Linked DNA regions of Homo sapiens: region 1 is linked to region 2. Evidence: promoter capture Hi-C in 16 types of primary human blood cells and fetal thymus (Javierre and others, 2016). All regions are on one chromosome and are shown on one strand. Each heading gives the region's core, a stretch centred on a gene start or on the middle of the fragment in contact. The rest is flanking DNA. Distances are from core to core; before and after follow the strand shown. Region 1 has its middle 19 kb from the start of MIR107. Region 2 holds the start of SLC16A12-AS1 (SLC16A12 antisense RNA 1).

Region 1 (2,700 bases), core at 94-2,593, 120 kb after region 2:
ATAGGCGTGAGCCACCACACCTGGCCAAAGAATATTAACTAACTGAATAGCAGTAGGAGGAAGGCACTTGAGCTAGAACTTCAGACCAGCCAATGTGCAATTTTAAGCCTGAGTATGCAGAAATTTCAATAATATGACTGATAAAGGTGATAGATACACATTCAGACATTGCCTCTATACACAATCCCTTTTAGAAAATGGAAGCAAATCTCTGGATCATTTAGTCCCAAAAAAGCCTTGATTTTTCCCAGAAAGCCACTTCAGGATTCTTGACGATTTGTTCATGGCATGCTCTTGGCATGTTCCTTTGCCTCTTCAAGCTTCAGTCTTTTCTCCAGTAAAATGAAGATAAGAATCCCCACGTTATTCATCATCTGAGTGGATTAATGGAGATTAGGTACAGGGAGTGCCAAGCATATGAAAGGCTTAATCCATCAGAGCTGTCATTATTGTTGTGGACTCTCTTTCCTGGAAACATCTTTTATTCCCACATGGTAGCTTTTTTTTTGTTCTGTTTTGTTTTGTTTTTGTTTGTTTGCTTGTTTGTTTTTGAGACAGAGTCTCGCTCTGTCGCCCAGGCTGGAGTGCAGTGGCACAATCTTGGCTCACTGCAAGCTCTGCCTCCTGGCCTCACGCCATTCTCCTGCCTCAGCCTTGCAAGGAGCTGGGACTATAGGCACCTGCCACCACGCCTGGCTAATTTTTTTGTGTTTTCAGTAGAGACGGGGTTTCACCGTGTTAGCCAGCCTGGTCTGAATCTCCTGACCTCGTGATCCGCCCACCTCAGCCTCCCAAAGTGCTGGGATTACAGGCGTGAGTCACTGCGCCGGGACCCCATATGGTAGCTTTGTAAAGGGCAGGGTCAAGGCCCAGTTCTCACACTCACAGAAGCTCTGGGTTGGGAAGGATATTAAAGGTCACTTCTGGTCCAAGCTCTACCTCTCCATCCAGTGCCAGGTCAGAACTTGTGAAAGTTCAATGCAGGTTAATAATTTGGCACCTTTTTTACTGATATTCTCCAAATAGTTGTTCAACATTTATTTAGAAGTTTAAAAATTAGAATAATAGCAAAAAGTGTAATTTTCACTTCTCAAACTTGGTAGGTTTATTTTGGGAGTGGCCTTGAACCTATTTTGCAACTACTCCTTAGTAATTAAAATGAACTTCTCCTGAGTTGAAATGCAAGATGCAGTTAATGCTTCCAAAGTCTCTTCTGCAGGACTGGATCAATGAATAAAAACTGACACTAAAACATAAGTAGCAATTATTCAATAATTAATACTAATGAATTACTAAATCTCTACATCTTAAAAGTTTGAATACCAGTGTATTTAGAATTTGTTTGGCTTCCAAAAACTATGCATGCCATGGTGTTTTATTTTAAAACTTCAAATCCTAACACTATATACCTTTTTTAAAGTGTTAATTTCTCATTTCTTTTTCTTTTTTTTCTTTTTTCTGAGACGGAGTCTTGCTCTGTCACCCAGGCTGGAGTGCAGTGGTGCGATCTCAGCTCACTGCTCCTGGGTTCACGCCATTCTCCTGTCTCAGCCTCCTGAGTAGCTGGGACTACAGGCACCCGCCACCACACCTGGCTAATTTTTTTTTGTATTTTTAGTTAGAGATGGGGTTTCACCGTGTTAGCCAGGATGGTCTCAATCTCCCGACCTCGTGATCCTCCCGCCTCGGCCTCCCAAAGTGCTGGGATTACAGGCGTGAGCCACCGCGCCAGGCAGTTAATTTCTAAGTGTGGCTATATCTTCATAAAATCTCTCTCTATGGCCATTAAAATGGATTATGCCATAGATGAAATGGTCCTTAACATTCCATGGACAAAGACCCCTACAGCTTGATTTTGCTGAGATAATCTTCATAGTTAATTAAGGACCACAGAAGACTACCATGAGCAGCTGAGGTCAGACAGGGACTGTAGAAACACAGGCTAAAGGACACGAAGAATTGTGTAATTGACTAAATGTTCAGGGCACAGCCAACAAAACTCAATTGTTCTGGACAACCACACCATTTTCTCTAGAGTTGCTGAAAGTTGTGTGGGTGGGATCTACAGATAATTGCCCCACTTCTCCATTTCATTTTGCCTGTCTAAACATTGTATAAATAACTACTTGATAAATTCAATGTTGATGTTGGCACATGAACAGACAGACAGAAAAGTGACTGCTCATTTTAAAATGTATAAAGCCAATATAAATAGTAAACAAATCTCAAAGGAGAATGCCTAAAAATGTTTAAAATTCACAATAATGTTTAATTTACCAAATTTCAACCCACTTATGGAGCTTAATTCAAAAATACTTTTGGCTTATATTTAAAATAAAGTGACATTTGACAAACTGTTCAAATATTAAGCTTAAAAATGTACTCTTCCTAAATAATAATTTTAATACAAACTCTAGATCCACAACTTGCAGGATTAACTATCTCTTCCCCAATATGCCAAAAACACGTACACATCCAAATATGCATAGAGAATATGAATGCTAGAAAAGTTTAAGAATATATCATGAAAATATATTTCATATGTCAGGATAAATAAGCTTGAGTAGTTAATGAAAAATAATTATTTTAAAGTTTAAGTTGTCTTTAAAATTAAATTTTACATATATTTTCAAGATATATGAGAAGACATACACCACCTACCTCACTATGGAATGTGGTAAAACAAACATAATTTATATC
Region 2 (2,857 bases), core at 28-2,527:
CCTCCAGGAAGGTTTCCCTGACCACTCAAGTCTCTCTTGATTCCACTCTTACGTGTTTCAACTACATGCTGGACATTTATCACACTGTGTGGCAATTTCCTTTGCATTTGTTTATATTCTTCACTAGACTGTTACCCTGTGACAGAAAAGACCATGTCTGTCTTATCTCACACTGAATCCCAAATATCTAGTATAGTACCTGTCATATACTTGGTGTTCATAAAACACTTTTCAAGGGAAGCAAGCCAGGAAGGAAGGAAAGGAGGAAGGATTAAAGTTGGTAGAGGAAGTGACTAGAAGACAAGGAAGTGAAAATGATTGAGTAGCAACTTCAAGAACTATGAATGAGAAAGGGAAGAAGGAGGAAGACTGGATGGTAGCTATATAGGAACATGTGGTTAGGTGAGGTAAAGTAGGGATGTGAAGAAAATGAGTGTTACAAGCTGAGAAAACAAATCCACAAGAGGGAGATGCAGAAGCTGGAGATGTAAGAGGATCACATGATGTCTAAGAGAAAAGGGCCCCCAGATGATGATATTTTCAAATTATAAATAATAATCTCTTTTTTTCACTAAATTGTTTTGGGGAACTTAGTAGTGTAACCATGTCTGTCCCTTGTCACTTTTTTTAAAGGTTACTTTGATTTCTGCTTGCTGGTTTTCTTAGATGACTTAATCAGTCATATGAATCAAACTTTAGATATACAGAAATCAAAATTAATACCTGAAATTCTTGTCTAAACATGTAAGCAGGCTTAACAAAGGCAAACTTTCTAATAACCACATACAGGCTTCTGAATGATTGTGACTTTCATGAAATATGGGAAGAATATTTTATCACTTATCTGTTCTCAAAGGGGAAAAGCACCACAGAACTTTTTGAGTAGTAGTTTCATGATGTATGCCTCTGAACACAGGCATGATATTAAATAAATGAAATTTTATTGGGAGCATGTGTGCATCTCACTCCAGAAATTATTTTTATTATTTTGGTTGTTCTTTGGAATATTTTACAGTGAAGCAGGGTCCTGATCCCTGGTTCTCACCCTAGGTAACTGAGGTTTTTGATAAAGCTTCTTAATCCCTCAGGGCCTCAGTTTCTTTATCTCTAAAATTAGCATTTTGGTAAACATGACTGCATCAGTCAGAATGGGCTGGATTATGCTGCAGTAGCAAACAACTCCTAACAACTTTCAGTGTTCATAGGCTCTGTTCATAAGAATGTGGAAACAAAGTATCACCAAGTGTCATCTGTGACGAAATGACATTCTCAAAAATACCTTCTCTCAGAGGCCAGTATGACTGCTGTCTCAATCTTGCCACTCTGCTGTAAAATTTTTCTCTGTCTCCTATACAGTGAGTGCTGCCAACATCTGGCATACTAGAATTGATCTACTGGGCACTGCAGCCTAGTGGCTAAAAGTCCTGCCACTTACTAACCATGGGACCTTGGACATGTTCTTCAACTGCTGTGTGTTATGAGGATTAAATGATTTAATCCATAAAAAATGCTTGAAGAATGCCAACATGCACAATGTAAGTGCTCAGTTAAAGTTAGCAATTATTATAAGAATTCAACTATTGTTAAGAGAGTTCAAAAGAACTCTACAATCCCATAGGATTCTAGACATATATTGCACCTAAGTTAATTTGGACCCAGTAGACTTAGAGAAAAATAGGTCTCAGACCTGGAGGGGGACAGGGTTTTGGACATTTAAATCAAACATTGCTTTTTAAGTATCAACCCAACTCAAGTGGCCAATTTATGAACAGAATAGCCTGCAATTACACATGAAGTATGATTCTTTTTTTTTCATTTTTTAAAATTTTATTTTATTTTACTTTAAGTTCTAGGTTACTTGTGCAGGATGTGCTGGTTTGTTACATAGATAAACGTGTGCCATGGTGGTTTGCTGCACCTATCAACCCATCACCTAAGTATTAAGCCCAGCATGCATTAGCTATTTTTCCTGATGCTCTCCCTCTTCCCACTCCCCCACCCCGACAGGCCCCAGTGTGTGTTGCTCCCCTCCCTGTGTCCATGTGTTCTCATTGTTCAGCTTCCACTTATGATTGAGAACACAGAGTGTTTGGTTTTCTGTTCCTGTGTTAGCTTCCTGAGGTTAATGGCTTCCAGCTCCATTCATGTCCCTGCAAAGGACATGATCTTATTCCTTTTTATGGCTGCATAGTATATACATAGTGGTATATATGTACCACATTTTCTTTATCCAGTCTATCACTGATGGGCATTTGGGTTGATTCCATGTCTTTGCTATTGTGAATAGGGCAGCACTGAACATACGTGTGCATATATCTTTATATTATAATAGAATGATTTATATTCCTTTGGGTATATACCCCGTAATGGGATTGCTGGGTCAAATGGTATTTCTATGCAAAAATTGACAAATAGGATCTAATTAAACTAAAGAGCTTCTGCACAGCAAAAGAAACTATCATCAGAGTGAACAGACAACCTACAGAATGGGAAAAAATTTTTGCAACCTATCCATCTGACAAAGGTCTAATATCCAGAATCTACAAGGAACTTAAACAAACTTACAAGAAAAAAAACAAACAACCCCATTAAAAAGTGGGCAAAGGACATGAACAGATGCTTCTGAAAAGAAGACATTTATGCAACCAACAAACATATGAAAAAAGCTCAACATCACTGATCATTAGAAAAATGCAAATCAAAACCCCAATGAGATACAATCTCACACCAGTCAGAATGGTGATTATTAAAAAGTCAAGAAACAACAGATGCTAGCAGGGCTGCAGAGAGATAGCAACACTTTTACACTATTCACAGGAATATAGATTAGTTCAACCATTGTAGAAGACAGTGCGGT

What was found. The method cuts DNA at HindIII sites, captures the fragments that hold promoters and counts their contacts. A CHiCAGO score of 5 or more calls a contact.
Region 1: a contact is called between a fragment that was not itself captured here and the fragment with the promoter of SLC16A12-AS1 in region 2, in 1 of 17 cell types (M0 macrophages). The highest score is 5.4, in M0 macrophages.

The regions. Positions count from the first base shown.
Region 1 is chr10:89,572,533-89,575,232 of GRCh38, forward strand. No RefSeq gene overlaps it. Among named protein-coding and RNA genes, the nearest start is that of MIR107, 19 kb to the right of the region's middle. The HindIII fragment of the contact is 2,050 bases long and covers 319-2,368 here.
Region 2 is chr10:89,454,714-89,457,570 of GRCh38, forward strand. SLC16A12-AS1 (SLC16A12 antisense RNA 1) reads left to right here and starts at 1,278. Exons shown (of 3, transcript NR_120614.1): 1 at 1,278-1,535. The region is part of intron 3 of SLC16A12 (solute carrier family 16 member 12); the gene reads right to left. The HindIII fragment of the contact is 4,427 bases long and covers 1,071-2,857 here.